Regions from separate parts of the Homo sapiens genome. Here region 2 is linked to region 1. Evidence: promoter capture Hi-C in 16 types of primary human blood cells and fetal thymus (Javierre and others, 2016). All regions are on one chromosome and are shown on one strand. Each heading gives the region's core, a stretch centred on a gene start or on the middle of the fragment in contact. The rest is flanking DNA. Distances are from core to core; before and after follow the strand shown. Region 1 holds the start of ETV3L (ETS variant transcription factor 3 like). Region 2 has its middle 75 kb from the start of FCRL5.

Region 1 (5,766 bases), core at 3,260-5,759:
TTCCTTTCTTGGCACCAAATGCTCTGAGTGAGGGGTGGAGGTGAGGGGCTGGCACAGGCTTCTGGAATCTCAATCTAGAAGTGGGGCATGTGGCTGCTTCCAATCTTCTGGTGACCTATACCTGCTTAGCATCCCTTAGGGCCAAAGCATAGGCAGGGCATGTGTGTTTGCCTGCAGAGGGGAGGGAGGTGCAAAATAGCCCACTCCAAGTGGGGCTTGGGAGGGAACACTTTTTTCTTTCTTTCTTTCTTTCTTTTTTTTTTTCTACCACTATCCACCTGGAGAGGGAACACTTTTTTCTTTCCCTTATAGTTTCCTAAAGAGAGAAGCTCTCTGCCCAAGGCATTCCCAGAGCTGGGACGGGGTGGGTGGGGGTGGAGAAACAGGGAGGACTGTTCAGGTGCTATTTAGCTCCAGGCTGCCAGACCAGGCCCAGCGAGTCCCAGCAGGCCCTGGAGCACCCCACACCCATGGCCTCAGCTGCACTCCCAGGGGTGCAGAGCTTGGGCCCCCAGCAGCTCAGGGGTGGGGTGAAGGCCATGGATCCTTCTTCCATGAAATTGGCTGGAGTAGAGGGGCAATTCTTTGACCTCTGCACAAGAGCCTTGGTTTGGCCAAGTGTCTCTGTGATCTTTTTCACAGAAAATCTGATACTGTCAGTTCCCAGCTCACAGCCTCTGTAAGAGCTGATGTCTGCCTCCATTTCCACCTCTTCTCCCACTCATTGGCCATGTGTTTCTGCACTGGCCTTCTCCCAGTCTCTCTGTTCCAGGGCCATTGCATGCACTATTCTCTCGCTCGCCCTCTGTTCCAGGGCCATTGCACACACTATTCTCTCGCTCGCCATGCTCTCCCTACTCCCTCTGAGCTAAGCTGACACTCACGTATACTTTGGGTGTCATCTCAAGTGTCACTTTGTCAAGGAAGTCTTCCCTGATGCCCTCGGCACCCTGCACTTCTCCTCTGCAGCAGTTAGCACAGTTATAATCACTTATCGATCATTAGTTGAATATCTGCACCCCCCTTGCCTATAAGTCCCATAAAGGCAGTGTTGCTCACATTGGCTTCCTAGCCCCTAGGACAGTGCCTGGCAAATTAAACAGGAGGTCATTAAGCATCTGTTGAAAGAAGAAATGAATGAGTGAGTGAATGAGTGAATGAACCCTATCTTCCCAATCTCTCTCCAGCTGAGCCTCCTTCTTCATCCCATGGCCGTTGTCTTGGTTACCGCCCCATCATCTCCTGCCTAGATTATCTTCAAAAGCCTCCCAACTCCAGTCTTATGCTTCCTCCAACCCAAACTCTACACACACACAGTCATCTTTATAAAATGAAAGTCTGGCAGGGCGCGGTGGCTCACGCCTGTAATCCCAGCACTTTGGAAGGCCGAGGCAGGCGGATCACCTGAGGTCAGGAGTTCAAGACCAGCCTGACCAACATGGAGAAACCTGGTCTCTACTAAAAATACAAAATTAGCCAAGGTGGTGGCGCATGCCTGTAATCCCAGTTACTTGGGAGGCTGAGGCATGAGAATCGCTTGAACCCAGGAGACGGAGGTTGCAGTGAGCCGAGATTGTGCCATTGCACTCCAGCCTGGGCAGCAAGAGCAAAACGCCATCTCAAAAAATAATAAAAGAAAGTAAAATAAAATGAAAGTCTGACCATGGATCTCCCTCCCAGTCCCTCCTGCCCACAGGAGAAAGTCCTGCTCCCTTAGCATGGCTTGTGCGGCCTCTGTGGCCTGACACCTGTTTGCCTTGCCAGCCCTGTCTCTCATCCGTCCTGCTTGTTCCCACCGCATCGCAAGACTTGCTCTCCAACAGCAAACTACCAGCTGTTCTCCAGATTTGCTACACTTGTTCACAGCTTTTTGCTTTATAAATGCTATTTCTGACTGGGTGTGGTGTCTCACACCTGTAATCCCAGCAGTTTGGGAGGCTGAGGCGGGTGGATCACCTGAGGTCAGGAGTTTGAGACCAGCCTGGCCAACATGGTGAAACCCCGTCTTTACTAAAAATACAAAAATTAGCTGGGCGTGGTGGTGCATGTCTGTAGTCCCAGCTACTCAGGAGGCTGAGGCATGAGAATCACTTGAACCTGGGAGGCAGAGGCTGCAGTGAGCTGAGATCCTGCCACTGTGTTCCAGCCTGGGCAACACTGAGACTCCGTCTCAAAAAAAAAAAAAAAAAAAAGAATAAATAAATGCTATTCCCTCTGCTTAGGCATCTTTTCCCACCTCCTTCACCTGCCCCAGTGTTGTGTCCTCTGGGAAGCCCCAGTTCCTTCTCTGGGCCTGAATGCACAGCACCTAGTGCTTACCTGAATGCCAGCAGCAGTCGCTGGCAGTAATCCCATCTCTGCTCCCCACTAGGTTCTGAGCCTCTTGAGCCTTTCATCTCTGAACCCCCGCACTTAGTAAATAGCTGGTGTTCAATAAATGTTGGTCGAATGAATGAATGAGTTACATAGTATCCCTTGTCTCATGCCCCCTCAGCCATGTACTCAGCCAGGAGGGCCCTCCCTCCTCTGGCTAAGATCCCCCTGGGCCCTCCCAGCCTTGAGCACTCACGGTAGACGCTGCTGCTGCTCCCCTTCTTATCCCCAGAGGTCTCTGGTGGCCCTCGGGGGGTCTGCTGTCCTGTCAGCTGCTCCACCATGGCCTGATGGGCAAATAGCATGCTGTGCAGGAGCTGAGGGGTGAGAAGTAGGTGCGAGGTGTGATGGGCTCTCCTTGGCATGTATCCTCCAGTACAATCTGGTACTGTTAGCCAGTTGCTAAAACAATGAAATACTCTCATACCGATTTTTTTTTTTTTGAGTTGGAGTCTTGCTCTGTCACCCAGGCTGGAGTGCAGTGGCGCCATCCTGGCTCACTGCAACCTCTGCCTCCTGGGTTCAAGCGATTCTCCTGCCTCAGCCTCCCTAGTAGCTGGGATTACAGACATGTGCCACCATGCCCAGCTACTTTTATATTTTTATTGGAGATGGGGTTTTGCCACGTTGTCCAGGCTGGTCTCGAACTCCTGACCTCAAATGATCCGTCCACCTCGTCCTCCCAAAGTGCTGGGATTACAGGTGTGAGCCACCACGCCTGGCCTCTCATACCCATTGTTAAAAGCCCACTGCCACGGCTGCCTACAGTCTCAGATGCCCTGGGCCCTTCCCTCTGATCCACCCCTAAAGGAGTGGCGACTAGGACAGAAGGAGCCACCCTTTCTCACAGGTGGGTCCTGTACCACCTGGATTGTTAATACCCCTGCCTCTGGGGCACTCAGGGTCTAGGATGCAGGAGGAGAAGAAAACTGGAGGCTGATGGGCCCCAGAGGCAAAGAGGAGGGTGGGGAGCCTCCTGGGCAGAGGGGTAGGACCTGGTGGAGCCCTGAGACAGGGGCCACCTCCGCTCTTACCTCACTCTGCACACCCACGGGCACCAGCGCTGGCCGACACAGGGCAGGGGCCCCCAGCAGCAAGTGGGGGGATGGCGGCGCCCGCACTTCCCACAAAGGATAGTTGACTACGATGAGCTTGCTGAAGTTGAACTTGTATGTGAACCTTTTGCCTTTGGTCTTATGCAGGATCCTCTTATTGTAGTAATATCTGGAGAATTCGAAGTTGAGAATAGAGTTGGCCCAGCAGTCAGAGAATAGAGTCAGGGACCCAGTCACATTCTCCTCCCTAGCCGGGCTGACCCTAAGCTGTTCCCCGAGAACCACTAGGCTGCTCACCACAGGCCAGGACACTTCCCAAGCCTTGGAGGGGTGGGAGTCAGCAGGGGTACCAGAAACCACGGCCCTTTTCCTTGAAATCCCCCCTCTTTGGCCATGTCAGCCGCCTCCTCTCACCTGAGGGCCCGGCTCAGCTTGTCATAATTCATCTGTGGTTTGCATTTCCTGCGGCCCCAGAGGCGGGCCACCTCATCTGGATCCTTGATGACAAATTCCCCGTACTCTCCCTGCTGCCAGGCGATGACATGGCGGAACTCTTCCTTCTGCAGCAGCTCCAGGATGAAGTGCCACAGCTGGATCTGCCGGGAGCCTGGGGACGACTCGGCTTTGTAGGCCCAATCAGGGAAGGCCAACCCTGGGTGGAGAGGGGAGAGTGAGGGCTCTGGAGGCCCTGCCCTAGGCCACCGTTGGAGCAGGGGGTAGGCCCGGCCAAGAGGCTCACCTGAGATCCAGTTGCCGGGGTTGGCTGGGATGCCCTCAGCCAAGCAGCTGCAGTGCATGGTCCACTCCGGCGAGATGGGCTGTGTCTGGGCCTTGGGGAAATGGTCACCACTTAAGAGGAAGGGAAGGAAGGAGGCAGAGGGGAGGACAGTGAAAGAGGAAGGAAAAATGGAGGGAAAGAAGGAAGGAAGGGAGAGGGTCAGGAAAGAAAGAGAGAAAAGGGAAGGGACAAGAGGTTGCCAGTGAAGGGGAGAAAAGGGAACCAGAGGCAGCAAGCTTCCCCATACCCAGACAGGGCCCAGCCCCCTCTGGGGACCTCCCCGCTGCCCAGGGCTGACTCGGACTCAGGGCTTCCGGCTGAGCTACTTATATAGATGGAGAGAAGTGCAAAGGGTCCTATATCCTGCCCCTGCTGGGGGATTTAGACAGAGAATGAGATCTCTTCTTAGGGCTTAACAGGATTGGAGTTTTTCCCAAGAGAAGACAAAAGGAAATGTAATTAATCATGGGCTCATTCTAAATCTTGAGTGGGAAGGAGGTGGCATATACACATACCTGTGCCTTTACAGTATTTCTTTTTTTTCTTTCTTTCTTTCTTTTTTTATTTTTTTTGAGACAGAGTCTCACCCTGTCGCCCAGGCTGGAGTGCAATGGGGTGATCTCGGCTCACTGCAACCTCCGCCTCCTAGATTCAAGCAATTCTCCTGCCTCAGCCTCCCGAGTAGCTGGGATTACAGGTGCATGCCATCACGCCCAGCTAATTTTTTTTATTTTTTATTTTTAGTAGAGATGGGGTTTCACCATGTTGGCCAGGCTGGTCTCGAACTCCTGACCTCGTGATCCGCCCACCTCGGCCTCCCAAAGTGCTGGGATTACAAGTGTGAGCCACTGCACCTGGCCGCCTTTACTGTATTTCAAACAATTTGACATTTGAGAAGAGCAGGAATTTGGTTTTTTTGTTTGTTTGTTTGTTTTTTTGAGATGGAGTCTCGCTCTGTCACCCAGGCTGGAGTATAGTGGTGAGATCTCGGCCCACTGCAACCTCTGCCTCCCAGGTTCAAGCGATTCTTCTGCCTCAGCCTCCTGAGTAGATGGGATTACATGTGCCCACCACCATGCCCAGCGTATTTTTGTATTTTTAGTAGAGACAGGGTTTCGCCCTGTTGGCTAGGTTGGTCTCAAACTCCTGACCTCAGGTGATCCGCCTGCCTCCGCCTCCCAAAGTGCTAGGATTACAGGTGTGAGCCACCGTGCCCAGACGAGCAGGAATTTTTATGGGCTTTTTTTTGCCAGTCCCAAGGGCCTGGCGCAAAATAGGTGTTCAATAAATGATTGCTGATCGAATGAATGAATGGTAATGGACTTATAGATAGTGTCTTCTTTGTTGAACATCTGTATCCCGCTCAGAGTGTCAGCTCCGAGATCAGCAACCCTAGCTGTCTTGTTCTCCTCTGCTGGCTCCCCAGATCCCATCGTAGCACAGGACATCGTACTCAAAGGTGCTTTATAGATATTTGTTGAATTGGTGAACCATGGACAGGAACCGGGAATCTTGTGGTTCTCCGCTGAGAAGGGTGGGGAGTTTATGGAATGAGCCCTA
Region 2 (5,174 bases), core at 730-3,229, 380 kb after region 1:
TGAGGCAGGAGAATTGCTTGAACCTGAGAGGTGGAGGTTGCAGTGAGCCAAGATTGCACCATTGCACTCCAGCCTGGGGGACAAGAGCAATACTCTGAAGTTATTGAAAGTTATTTATTTATCATTATCTACAGATGATTTAATTTGTTACTGGAAACCTCAAAATATAGGAAAATTATTACAAATGATAAGAGAACTCAGGAAGAGAGTTGGATACAAGCTTAATGTGGAGAAATAAATAGACTCATTACATGATACTAATAATCAGAAAGATATTTTGGCATCAGCAAAATAAAATGCTTATTTAAAACCTAATGGGAAATGTACAAAAGATGTATGATGAAAAATATAAAATGCTACTGAAGAATACAAAAATAATGTCTGAACAAATAAAAACATATAGCACATTCCCCAGTAGGAAAATTAAATTATACAGAAGTCAATTCTCATGAAATTAATCTATAAATTAAATGTGATTCTAATTTAAAAATAATAGGATTTTTAAAAAAATCCAGACAAGCAGATCCTTTATATGGAAGAATGGGTCAAGAACATCCAAAACAATTCTGAAAAATAAGCATAATCAAGGGGACAAGCTACCAGATATTAAAACATATCATGAAACTCCAGTTATTAAAGCAGTATGGTATCAATAAATGAATAGACATAGAAAGTCCAGAAAAGAAAACAATAAATGGTTTTGAAACAACTGGCCGGCCATCAGGAAAAAAAAGTTGGATTCATAGTACATACTTCATACCAAGATAAATTCCACAAAGACCAAAGGTTTAAATGCGTCTAGAAATTTCCCGCTAGAAATGGATAGTGATGATGGTGGCAAAACATTGTGAATGTTTTGAACTCTACACTTACAAATGGTAAATTTTATTTTATGCATATTTTACCACACTGAAAAATATATCACATACAAAAAACCTTTAAATAATAAAAAATGGAAAAAATGATTTTTTTTTGAGACAGAGTCTTGCTCTGTCACTGAGGCTAGAGTGCAGTGGTATCATCTTGGCTCACTGCAACCTCTGCCTTCTGGGTTCAAGCAAATCTCACGCCTCAGCCTCTCAAGTAGCTGGAACCACAAGCATGTGCAGCCATGCATGGCTAATTTTTGTATTTTTATTGGAGACAGGATTTCTCCATGTTGACCAGGCTGGTCTTGAACCCCTGGCCTCAAGTGATCCACCTGTCTCAACCTCCCAAAGTGCTGGGATTACAGGTATGCATCACTGTGCCTGTCTAAAAAAAAATCTTTTAATAACCAAGGGTGAGAAAGCCCATATGACAAATCAAACACACAAGCAATAGCAAACTCTTGAAATCACAAAAAGTTCATAGATTTGACAACAGAAAAATAAAAATTTTCTTCATGGCAAAAATGACTATATAGTCAGAAAAAATATCACAAATTAAGAACAATATTGCTACTCAAATAATAACAAGGTAAAACAGAAAGTACTTAAAATGTTCATTAGTTGGAGGCAATAGAGAATCAGTAACAACACAGGGGAATCCTATGCAACCATGCAAAAATTAAGGCAGCTCTTTATGTACTACTATAAAATAATTGCTCAGATTCATCATTAAGGCAAAAAAAGCAGGGCAGAGTTTATAGTATGTTAACATTTGTGTAAAAATGGAGGGAAATTACGTATACATTTTGTTGGCATATGGATAGAATATCTCTGAAAGGGTACAGCAAAAAAATAATAAAGGGAGAGTCTTTTCATGGTCTATTGTTATGGACCTTTTGAATTTTAATCCTGTTAAAATTCACGGTTATGTACTTTATTAAATTTTTTAACATTTGAACTTTCCCTTAGCCTCTACAATCCTCTTAAACAGCTCTATCAAAAGCTTCCAATATCTCATTAAACTAAAAACAACAGCATATACGAGGCGAGCTCTTCATGAATCTTTATTAGAGAGAACAGTCAGATGGCTATCATCTGGGTGATATAAGAGCTGGGAGACCAGTGACCATGTGGTGGGAGCTGGGGATAGGGCATGGGGGAACTGCAGTACTGTGAAGAGAGCTTGGCTTTCAGAGACCAATTAATTTTCATGGGTTCAAGCTTGAGGGTAGACCTGGGAGAGGCTGCTGGTCCTCATGGCTCAGAGGAACTGTGGGGACTACACAGGTGGGCCAGGCTGACTTGAACCCATGAAGTTGGGAGGCTCACGGCTGGGGTGACAGGGGAGTGTGTTCCTCCAGTGCATGCAGTTGGTACCATGTGTGTTCCAGGAGTGGAGGCTACCATAACTCTTATCACAGCTGGCTTGCTGATGCTTAAGAGACCCTCACAGGTTGACTTGACTACTGAGGGCAAATGGAATGATGGGTAAGCAATTGAAAAAAAAAATGCAGCTAAGGGGCTTCAGAAACTGGAAGAAAAGGAAACTGGACAGAACACCTCAAGCACAGTCCCTAGAGTAAAGCTGCTTGATTGGCTTAGTAGTCAACCTTCTGAATTTTTTTTCTGGCAATTCAAATATCTTGTCTTGGTTTGGATCCATTGCTGGTGACCTACTGTGACCTTTTGGGGGAGTTAAAGAACATTGTGGAATTGTTTTTCTGGTTTCCTCTCATTTGGGTAGACTGTCAGAGGAAAGATCTGGAACTCAAGGGCTACTGTTCCCACTCTTGTGTCCCACAGGGTGCTCCCTTGATGTGGTGCTCTCCCCTTTCCTCTAGGGATGGGGCTTCCTGAGAGCTGAACAGCAGTGATTGTGATTTCTCTTCTGGATCTAGCCAACCAGTGGAGCTACTGGACTCCTGGATGGTACTGGGGAGTGTCTGCAAAGAGTCCCATGATGTGATCTGTCTTCAGGTCTCTCCATGATATCAGCACCTGCTCTGGTGGAGATAGCAGGGTAGTGAAGTGAACTCTGGGAGGATTTTTGGTTATATTTTTGTTAAGTGTGCTGGTTATGTGTTGGGCTGACCTACAGCCAGGAGGTGGTGTTTTCAAGAGCGCATCAACTGTGGTAGTATAGGGAGTATCAGGTGGTGGGAAGGACCTTAGAGCTCCCAAGAGATTATGTCCTTTGTCTTCAGCAACCAGGGCGGGTAGAGAAAAACCATCAGGTGGGAGCAGGGTTAGGCATGTCTGAGCTCAGACTCTCCTTGGGCGGGGCTTGCTGTGGCTGCTGCAGGGGCTGGGGGTGTGGTTCCTAGGCCAATGGAGTTATGTTTTCAGGGTAATTATGGCTGCCTCTGCTGTGTCACACAGGCCATCAGGGAAGTGGGAGAAAGTTGGCAGCCACAGGTCTCACCCAGCTCTCATGCAGACAACCGCCCAAAAGGCTAGCCTCACTCCCACCAAGTCCCCCACAACAGCACCACCAGTGAGCAGGGATGAGAACTTGCCCCAGGCTATAAGCCTCCCAGCTGAGAAAGCAAGCAGACTCACAGTTCCTTGGCTGTCACCTCCTTCAGAGTGTCTGTGGATTCTCTTGGCTTTCCTGGTATGTTCCTGTGGTAGTTCTTAGAGCAAAAGTTCACAATGTAGGTCTCCACATTCGACTCTGTCCATCTGAGAGGAAGCTGCAAGTTAGTCCTGCCTCCTATCCATCATTTCCCTCTATTTTTGCCAATTTTATAACATTTAATGGCAATGTTGCATACCTTAGGGATTTTTCTCTTTTGCTGTCTACACCCATGTATTTACCTCCTGACAAAACACAGTACATTAAAGAGACATCTCTGTCATTATTTCTTTAAATAGTCTTTTTACATCTTTCTCTTTCTCTACTCATCTGGGACACCCATAATTAGTATATTGGTTCACTAGATGTTGTCCTGTAATTCCTGGAGGCTTTCTTCACTCTATTTTCATTCTTTCTTTTATCTTTTGGTTCTCCTGACTGGGTAATTTCAAGTGACCTGTATTCAAGTTCACTGATTCTTTCTTTTGCTTGATTGAGTCATTGCTGAACCTCTCTGTGAAATTTTTTATTTTAGTCATTATGATCTTTGGCTCCAGAATTTCTGTTTGGTTCTTTCTGGCCATCTGGCGTGATCCTTGGGTGGTTGTGCTGCTGGCTTGGTGCCTGGGTCAGCAGCTGGGTATGCCTGGTGCCTGGATTGATGAGGTTGCATCTAGGGCCTGGTTCAAATGGATTAGGCCTGGGGCTTGAGTCTTCTCAGACAGGCCTGGATTCTGGGTTTACAGGGGCTGTCCTGGTACCGGACAAGAGTACCTGGTACTTCTCCACTGGAGAAGACCTGTTTACCGGGTCTACCGGAGTGGGCCCAAATGCTGGCTCATGAGGGTGGGCCTCAAGCCCATGTGTGTGGGGGCTAGCCTGAAGCCTGGGTTCACAGTGGATGACCTGGCATTGGAGAAGGCCTTGAGCCAGAATTTTCAGGGACTGGACTGATGTTAGAAGGGCCTGGTGCCTGGGCCCATGGAGACGGACCTGACACCTGAGTCTACAGGGGCTGGCCTGGCACTGAGGTGGCCCTAGAACCTGATTCTGCAGGGGAAAACCTGGGTCTTGGGTTTGTGAGGGCCAGTGTGGAGGCTGTTTGTATGGATGCTCGTCTGGAGTATGAGGCTGCAGGGCCTGAGTTAGAGCTGAGGCATGCCTGGAGGCTGGGTCCATGGATACTGACCTGGTACTTAGGGCCACAGAAATGGCCTGGGATTTGGGTAAGGTTGAAGCCTTGGGCCACAGGAACTAGCCTAGTTCTGGGGGTGGTCTGGAACCTGAAGTCACTGTGGTTGGCCTGGAGGTGGGGCAGGCCAGGACCCTGACTCTGTGGGAGGCCAACCTAGGGCCTGGGGCCTTTGGGCCTCTAGAGTGGGCCTGATGCTCGAGTCTATGGAGCCAGTTTGGTTCTGGGGTGGGTTTGGAAATTGAGTCTGTGAGTCCCAGGCTGGAGTCTCAGACTGCAGGGGCTGTCCTGGCACTAAGTGGGCCTAGAGGCTTGGTTAACAGGAGTAGGCCTGGGTTCTGGGGCTGCAATATGATGGGCTGGAAATGGAGTCTGTTGGTGGCTGTCTGATGTTTAGGACTGTGGGGGTGGCCTGGCACTAAGGCAGGACTGAAGCCTCAGGCTGCAGGGGCTAACCTGGTGCTGAGGGTAGTCTGAAGCGTGGGGTCACTAGGGCTGCCCTAGAAGATCAAGAGAAAAAAATATCTCAAAACATAGA

The links. Contacts are between HindIII fragments. The CHiCAGO score rates a contact against its expected background, and 5 or more counts as called.
Region 2: a fragment that was not itself captured here is called in contact with the fragment with the promoter of ETV3L in region 1 in 1 of 17 cell types (total B cells); the score reaches 5.8 in total B cells.

The regions. Positions count from the first base shown.
Region 1 is chr1:157,095,299-157,101,064 of GRCh38, forward strand. ETV3L (ETS variant transcription factor 3 like) reads right to left here and starts at 4,510. Exons shown (of 5, transcript NM_001004341.2): 1 at 4,168-4,510; 2 at 3,843-4,080; 3 at 3,408-3,597; 4 at 2,570-2,690. The coding sequence starts at 4,225. The HindIII fragment of the contact is 3,618 bases long and covers 4,441-5,766 here.
Region 2 is chr1:157,474,440-157,479,613 of GRCh38, forward strand. No RefSeq gene overlaps it. Among named protein-coding and RNA genes, the nearest start is that of FCRL5, 75 kb to the right of the region's middle. The HindIII fragment of the contact is 218 bases long and covers 1,871-2,088 here.